Regions from separate parts of the Homo sapiens genome. Here all the other regions are linked to region 2. The links are contacts of gene promoters, found by promoter capture Hi-C in blood cells and fetal thymus (Javierre and others, 2016). All regions are on one chromosome and are shown on one strand. The core of a region is centred on a gene start or on the middle of the fragment in contact, and the rest is flanking DNA. Distances in the headings are between cores, read along the strand shown. Region 1 overlaps PLXNB1 (plexin B1). Region 2 holds the start of UCN2 (urocortin 2). Region 3 has its middle 27 kb from the start of FBXW12.

What was found. The method cuts DNA at HindIII sites, captures the fragments that hold promoters and counts their contacts. A CHiCAGO score of 5 or more calls a contact.
Region 1: a fragment that was not itself captured here is called in contact with the fragment with the promoter of UCN2 in region 2 in 2 of 17 cell types (naive CD4 T cells and neutrophils); the score reaches 6.4 in naive CD4 T cells.
Region 3: a fragment that was not itself captured here is called in contact with the fragment with the promoter of UCN2 in region 2 in 5 of 17 cell types (naive CD4 T cells, total CD8 T cells, naive CD8 T cells and 2 more); the score reaches 7.5 in naive CD4 T cells.

What each region holds. Positions count from the first base shown.
Region 1 is chr3:48,415,407-48,418,106 of GRCh38, forward strand. It overlaps PLXNB1 (plexin B1), which reads right to left. Exons shown (of 38, transcript NM_001130082.3): 16 at 2,505-2,656; 17 at 940-1,045; 18 at 625-761; 19 at 177-353. Among named protein-coding and RNA genes, the nearest start is that of PLXNB1, 13 kb to the right of the region's middle. The HindIII fragment of the contact is 450 bases long and covers 1,098-1,547 here.
Region 2 is chr3:48,562,331-48,565,030 of GRCh38, forward strand. It overlaps UCN2 (urocortin 2), which reads right to left and starts at 1,451. Exons shown (of 2, transcript NM_033199.4): 1 at 1,373-1,451; 2 at 1-806. The coding sequence starts at 794. The coding sequence ends at 456. It overlaps COL7A1 (collagen type VII alpha 1 chain), which reads right to left. Exons shown (of 119, transcript NM_000094.4): 118 at 2,453-2,650; 119 at 1,743-2,092. The coding sequence ends at 2,076. It also overlaps a transcript of PFKFB4 not described here. The HindIII fragment of the contact is 21,136 bases long and covers 1-2,700 here.
Region 3 is chr3:48,397,746-48,400,445 of GRCh38, forward strand. No RefSeq gene overlaps it. Among named protein-coding and RNA genes, the nearest start is that of FBXW12, 27 kb to the left of the region's middle. The HindIII fragment of the contact is 849 bases long and covers 861-1,709 here.

The DNA.
Region 1 (2,700 bases), core at 73-2,572, 150 kb before region 2:
ACAGCCCAGTCCCGGCTAGGTCAGCTCAGCCCCAGCCCCAAACCACACGACCCCTTGCCCCTACTAGCAGCATGGGATTCTCAGTGCCTCAACATAAAGCCCTACAAACCCCCACATAGTGGAGCTGCAAAGACCTCCCTGCCACCTGCCATGCAGCCACACCCCTGGCCCAACACCTGAGGAAGCTCTTGGTGGGGCCAGCAGAGGTGATGTTGGGGTCCAAGGTATACTTGAACTGTCCGCGTTGAAGCCTCCGCTCCGTGGCCCCAAACCACACAGCCACAGGGAGCGTGGCAGGCGTGGGGCGTGGGCTGGTCTCACACCGCAGTTGTTCTGACTGCTGCTCCGGCAGCCTGGGAGGGGAGGTGGGAATGAATGCAGGGGCGCAGGCAGGGAAAACTTGGACCACTCAGGCCCCAACTGGCTTCCCTCAAGCGCTGACTGCAGTCTCCACCAGGTGTCCCTGGAGGTGCACTCCCACCACAGCTGGCTAGGGAGGGTCTGGCCACTCTCTGAAGGAGCAGACTGGCCCTCTTCCCCTTTCTGCTCTCCCCAGGATCTCAGACCCCTCCATCTTTCCCCTGGAGCAGATGGATTTTTGCAGGATGAGGAAGTGGCCCTCACAAGTGACAAGGCTGGTCTCCAACCACCACTCGGATGTCCTCCAGCCGCCCAGTCAGGAGCTTGGAGCCATTCAGGGTGAGACGGGTGCCCCCAGCTCTGGGGCCGCGGGCCGGGAAGATGGAATGGACCTTCGGATCCTGTGGGACAGACAGGGAGAGAGATGAGCATCAGACCAGACACATGGAGGCAGGGACAGCCTGAGAGACAGGCTGGCCCAGGACTGGGAGCCCCACCAAGGAATAACCAGATGGGTTGAGAGGAGCCACCAGAGAGGTTGGCCCGCTGGCAGCTGGGGGTGGCTCAGCAGTCAGGTACCTGGTAGGCAAAGTCGTGTTCTGAGACACCACGTCCTCTTCCCGGCACCTCCACCGCTGTGGCGCCGGCCACCTCCTCCCCACTGGCCCCGGTGATGCACACGAGGCTGTAGGCACAGGGCAGGCTAGGGGGTGCCAGGCTGCATCAAGGGCCCCTCAAGCTTACCTGGCAGCCCCTCTCCCTGCCCTACTGTCAGGTGGTCTTCCCCTTCCCATGCTCCATAAGATTGACAGAGACCCTCTCTCACTTTGGAGGGAATTCTTTATGACACATCAGAAGGCCTTGGTATCTGAGAATTAATATTTGTGGCTTCAATCATTTAAGTTCAACCCCAGGGGCCCCCAATAAGGAAGAATTTATCTGTGGCATAAATTTACAAAGGGGCCCTGTCAGCCTGGTTGTGGGGCGAGCTGCTGAGCAAGTGAGTGGGCACAGCTAGCCGCCCATGTCCTCCGCCACGTCACATGCACAGTACCCACTCAAAGCATGGTAGAAACTTGATTTATTCAGGAAAAAGAGTCCCTGAAAGCCTCTAGTCAGACAGGGAAATACAGGTGAAGGGAAAGTGAACCATCTAAGAAAATGCTGGTTCTTAGCCAGAAAATAGAAGCTTGGGCAAATTAAACTTCCAGAGTGTTAAGCCTGCAGTGGCTCAACTCAGTGACATTGTCACAGTTGTTGCAAACACTAGGAAGACACAAGTGACGTGTGAGCCACCCAGGGGAGGCTCCAGACAGAATATATGCTAATTGCTTCATAAATCACAGCAGTCTTATGGTCTGGAACACTAACAGTCTAGATAGTCACCGTAAGTTCTCGGTCATAACACATTCAGGGGACACTCCGTGCTCCAGGAGAGTGGTTCCTTGTTTCAAATACAGATTTGGGGGCCCCACCGTGGGCCTCCTGAATCCAGATGTTTGTGTTGGTTTGGGACAGGATCTGCAGGTTACCCTGATATTCAGCCACGTTTGGGCCCTGCTGCTTATGGACATCTCCTTAGGAATGTCCTGCGTGTGTACCTTTGGGGCCTGCAACCGCTGGCCAGGTTACCATAACCCAGGAGCCCCAGGAAGGCAGCAGGGGTCCCTAGAGACGACAGTGGAGCCTGGCCCTCGGCCAGTGTGCCTTTCTGAGGTGTGCCTTCCAAGTCTACCTTCCTGAAGAGCCTGGCAGCCCAGGACAATGCCTGGGGAAGAGTGAGCTGGTGAGAAGGCCAGCCCCTGAGCTTATCTGTCTGATCTGAGGGTCCTGCTGCCACAGCTATTAATATATCCACAGTCCCTCAGAAGACCAGGTGAGCAGAGCAGGAAGCAGAGCCACGAGTCAGTTCTGGGCAGTGACGGGCCCAGGAAGGATTCCCCAGCAGCCCAGGCCAGGAACCTACAGGTGTGGTGGGTGCTCAGGGTCTTCAGTGGCAACGCTGGCACTCGGGCATTGTGGCCAGGATCAAGGAACAGGGAGAGAGGGGGGCAGATGAGCGGTGGGTGGGAGGCCCCAAGCAGCAACGCCAACCGCGGAGGCCCCAGGCTGCGCCGTGCTCCTGCTGGGTGCAGCCAGCTTACCTGCTGGAGACCTCGTACTCCTGGGCATCCACAGCACAGGGCACTCCAGCCACCGTGACCATGCCCAGCACATCCTGCACATGCTGGCCCAGGTTGGAGCCCCTGATGGTGACACGGGTGCCTCCGTCTACAGGCCCAGTCAGTGGCTCCACCTGTTCCAGGACAAGGACTGCTCACCTCTACTCAACTGGAAAGG
Region 2 (2,700 bases), core at 201-2,700:
TCGGAGGCAGTGTTGAGCTCTCGTGTTGAGGCTCCTGAAAGTAACATGATGATGACTGCATGTGGCGGTGTCCAGGTGTTCTGTGACTATGGGGCACCCAGACATAGCAAGACTCGCCACAGCAGTGACCTTACGTGGCAGCATCCAAGCTGTCCGGACATATATTAGGTCTGTGGGGCACACAGGCATGGCAAGACTCCATGTGGCAGTGACCCAACTTAGCAATGTCCAATGTCCAGGCTGTCCAGACACACTGTGACTCTGTGGGGCACTCAGATCTGATATGACCTGCATGACAGTGGCTCCATGTGGCAGTGTCCAGACACTGTATGCCCAGATGTGGCAGCGTCCAGACACTGTATGCCCAGATGTGGCAGCATCCGTCCAGCTGTGTGGCTGCCCTCCAGGTCTTCCCATCCAGGGTGGCCCTATCACTGTGACCCCCTCTCTCAGGCTCAGCAGTGGCCGACACGGGCCAGGATGCGGGCGTTGGTGGTGGCCTGCTCCCTGGCAGCCCTGGCCCGGGCTTGCTCCAGTAAGATCTGCAAGAGGCCGATGGGGACATCCAGCGATAGGACAATGCGCGAGCCAGGGTGGCGGGTGGGGCTGCAGTGGCTCTGGGCAGCCCACGGCCATGTGGGAGCAGCTGAGGGGCTCTCTGAGGCCGCAGGTCGGGGAGTGGTCTGGGGAGAATTCTGAGGGCGGAGCTGGAAGGTTGGGATAGGGGTCACTGGGACAACCAGGACTCTGCCCAACATCAGGACCATCAGCAACAGCAGAGCACACCTGGTCATCGTGAGGTCAGGCTGCAAGGAGAAAATGGGCTCAGGGCAGGGGCTCTGGTCAACTGGGGTCCATGGACAGAGACAGATGGCAAGGGCAGAGTGACAGAGCGGGGGATGGAGAGAGAGGAAGACACCGAGAAAGGGGTTAGAGAGGCCAGGCCAGGCCAGAGACAGAGAAGGGGAGACAAGAGGAGAGCCAGAATGAGACAAAGAGGCAGAAAGCAAGACAGAAAAAAAGAAACAAAGAAATCCAGAGACAGAGGGACAGCAAGAGAGGGAGATGAAGGAGATGGAGGCAGAGCAAAATGGAGACTAGAAGAAAAAGACAGACAGAAACCATCCCAGAGACAGACAGCATGATGGAAAGAAAGATTCAGACAGAAACACAGAGTCCACAGGAGGGCAGGCGGTTCTCAGCAGGAGAGCTTGCAGCTGATCCAGGAAACAGAAGGGCAGGAATCGGATCTCAGAGGCAGAAAAGCAGCCAGAGATCCCAGAGTCCCCTGGGTCCAAGCCCTCCATAAAGCCAAACCCCACATCCACTCAACCTCCAAGACCCTTCCCATCCCGACCCAACCCAGTCCTACCGCCACCAGCTGCTTCTGGGGTAAGGCAGCCTGCTGTGGCTGCCTGGGGCTGGGGCCAGGCACTACTGTCCTGTGGTCTGACCCTCTACCCCGCTTCAGGGCCCATTTATCTCCCTCAGCCCCCTGGGGTGGGAGCTGGTACATGCTTCCTGGCATGAGGCAGCCCCCCACCTATGACTCATCCCTCCCGGGGGTGTCCTTAGCCCCCACCCTATCTACTCTTTTCCGGGGACAAGTTGGGGACTGAGAATCACAAGACAGTGACCAGGACTGGGCAGAGGGACTCTGTACCCATGCAGAATAATACCAACCCCCCAAGGAAAACCTTCCCCCTTGAAACCCCCCATCTTCCCAAACAGTCACAACAGGAGCCTTTTAAAACAGCAGCTTTAATGCCCCCCAGAATCAGCACCATGTCATCACAGGCTTGGGTCAAGGGGCGGGTCAGACGCCAGTCACATCCGCTCACTGCCCACAGCCACCCCCCCACAGTGAGTCATCTGCCAGGGTGGCAGGAGCCACAATGGGGGTTTGTCCACAGGGGGGAAGGCTAGACCCACGGGACCAAGTCACTGAAATAACGGACGTGCACACGCACGCTCACGTGCACACAAGCCTCTAGCACCAAGGGGAGGGACAGTGGGGTTCTGCTGAGACCCCGACTCCTCCAGGGGATGCTGAATCTCAGCTCATTATCTGGGCCTCAGTCCTGGGCAGTACCTGGTGAGGACAGGTTGGAAACGGTCGTCAGCCATCTGACCTTCCCCGGAGACGCTCAGGCAGAGGCACCGCCAAGGGGAGGGAGCGGAGGCTACAACAGGAAGTGGGGGCTCTGACCTCAGAGGGGTCCATACTTAGGTCTTTAAAGGAGGGAACATGGAAGGGGACCCTACTGGGGGCTCCACGGCTGGGGCTCTATATTCAGCTCTTTGGTCTGGGCGTCTGCCCCAGGTCCCCTACTGCGAGGGAGCGTCTCCTCCAGGACCCTGACCTGGAACCCTGGCCCAAGGACTCCTCCCCCAGAACCCGATCCAGGCAGGCTCAGTGCCCAGTTCCCCACGGTGGGGGCTCAGCCCATACCTGTCCCCTGGCTCTGGACCACCCGGGGTGGGCAGCGGCGCTCGCAGGCCTCACGGGTCCCAAAACGGTTGGCATTCCCTCCACAGCCACCATAGACAAAAGGGTGACAGGCCTCTGTGCTGCCTGTCACAGCCCGATGGTACCAGCGCAGGGTGTAGGCAGTGCAGGAGCCCTCATCCAGTGGCAGGGAACAGGGGTCTGGGCCAATGGGGTCAAGTCAGCAGGGTTTGTGGGAATCAGAGAGGGTT
Region 3 (2,700 bases), core at 35-2,534, 160 kb before region 2:
TGACAGAGTTAAAAGGAGAAATGGGCACAGCCATGGGAGGTGTGAGAAGGGAGCCAGTGGGAAAGCAAAAGACTGAAGAACAAGGAGACTGGGGTGGGGAGTAAGAAGCAAAGAAGGACCTGGGCTTGGCTGGTCCTCCAAGGGACCCAGGGACCCGGTCCAATCATGGACTGAGGACATGGGCTCAGGAGGTGGACTGAGGCCCCCGGAGAGAGCGGCAGGGTGGGAGGTGTAACCTGCACAGCATGGAGCAGTGGGAGCCTGGGGTTCCATCTGGAGACATGGGTTCTAGTCCCACTTGCTGTGTTTTTGGGGCATGTCACTCCATCTCCCTGGGTTCAGCCTCCCCAGGGAAGGACACTCTCTCCACCCTTCCCCAGCCTGGCCCTCACAAACGATGATGCCAAAGCAGTATCCTTCATGTGTGGGGTTAGCGATAGGGCCGCTGGCCAGAGAGAAGATAGAGGCAGGGCCTCTGGCATTGTGTGGAGCCTGGATCTTGCTCTGCAGTCTGGGAGAACCCTGGGCATGGGAGGAAGAGCCAAGAAACCTCTCAGGCTGGATGACAGCCTCTGGGGGCTCACACCGTCCTCTACCCTAGGAGAGGCCAGGGCAAGGTGTGCACCCTGCTGCTGTGCACCTTCTCCTTGTCCTCCTCTGAGGCCTCAGGCAGTCGCCCAGTTGGGTCACTCTTCACCAGGGTTAGGCCTGGCACCTTGGCATGGAGGGCCAGCTCTTGCCCACAGGCTCTAGAGGCCCTGAGGGTCACCAGGGCCCTTCCCCCTCCCGTGACAGCTTGCACAGGATGCTGTCTTTGGAAAGGTGGTTAGGGACTCACACCTTACAGAAGAGGAACCAGAAGCTTGGAAAAGATGACTGTTCCTAGGTGGTCAGTGCCAGGGCCTGGCCAAAGCCCACTTCTCAAGCTCCAAGTCCATGGGGTGTTCCACCAGAACATCATTCCCCATTGAGCAGAGCCTCTGCCTGTCCCCAATGCTACACACACACTTCAAACATATACATCAAACACACAGACACACACACACACAGAGTTCTGCTGCCTCCACTCCAGTCAGCAACCTGGGCTGGGCGCAGGCGCGAGGGTTTGTCTCTGCGTGGGGGCTTGGGAGTGCCCCACACACATTTCTTTGGGTGTAGAGAACCAGGCGTCCTGCCCCTCCCCCAGCTCCGGATGGGTCTGTGCCTGGCCCTGCTGACTTCTGCCCTGAGATGAAGCTGTAGACACAGCCTGTAGTGTGGAGTCTTCCTTGGGTCCCTATTTGCACACCCAGCATCCCACCCAACCTGGAGATAAGGTGAAGAGGCCCAGTCAGCCCCCAAAATTTGGTGTTTCCAAGGTCCTTCAGGTGGACAGTGCAGCACCGCCCAAGGAGCACTAGGGCATGGAGTGCGGTGGAAAATTCTGCAAGCCAGGGGGCTGGAAACCAAGTACTGCTATGGCCGTGACCTTGTGGCCTTGAATGACAAAGCACCTGCTAGGTGCCTCCCAGGACAGCAGGTCCTCAGGCCAGAGGCAGTTTTCTGCCCACTTCTTCACCACTCAGCAGTCCAGAGGCTGCCCTGCCATTCAGGCTCCCCTGCCCTCTGGCTTTCAGGTGGCTTGGCCAACGGGACGGGCTGGCAGGAGTCTGGGCAGTGGGGAGGAACAAGAGGCCAGGGTAATTATTCCCCCAGCATCCTCCCTCTGAAGCTTCCACCTTTAGCCACAGCCCCACTGGTCCTGATGACTACTCTGTCCCTACCCCTAGAGCCCAGGACTGGTAACAGCTGTGCTTCACCATCCCTTATTGGCTTCCCAGAGCCTGCAGCTCTGTAAGTAGTCCCCTCATTAAACTCTCTTCCAGCTGCATCTTTCCTGGTACATGCTGTCAGTTTCCTGCCAGGAGCTGGACTGATCCAGCACTTGATAAATGTTTCTTCATTAAATCCTGCCAGGTGCCAGCTTGGGATCCAACCCCATGACACAGAGTGGCTCCTGCCACATGCCAGAATGTCCCTGCCCTTCTCTCCAGAGGCCCAGTCAGTGAGAGGAGGAGGAACTAGAATCCAGGTCTCCTGCCTCCCAGAGCAAGGCTCCTGTCACTCCACTCCCTGGGGCTTCTTGGGCCTGAGATCTTGAGGCAAGTCTGGTGGTGGAGGAGGTCTTGAGCAAGACAGGCTTGAATCCTCTCTTCCTGGTGGCACCCATTCACTAGGGCAGCAGGTGCCCCAGCAGCACCAACTCACCAGCATGGGTGGAGGGGCCAGGTTAGCAGGTTCCCAGGCACCTGCAGCGTCAGCCAGCATGCAGCTCCTGGCTTCCCACGGGCGCCACTGACTCAGCAGTCAGAGGCTGTGGGTAACACTGCTGCCCCCTTTGCCAGCTTATAGGTGACAGAGGCTTCTATAGTCACTCACCGCTGGATAACTACTCCCCTTTTTGTCCTTCACACACTTTCATAATCAATCCCTTATATTTAAATTCCTTCCATTGGAAACACCTAGAGTGGTTTCTGGTTTTTTGTTGTTGTTGTTGTTGTTTTCTTTTTGAGACAGAGTCTCATTCTGCTGCTCAGGCTGGAGTGTGGTGGCATAATCTCAGCTCAGGCTGGAGTGTGGTGGCATAATCTCAGCTCAGGCTGGAGTGTGGTGGCATAATCTCAGCTCACTGAAACCTCTGCCTCCCAGGTTCAAGTGATT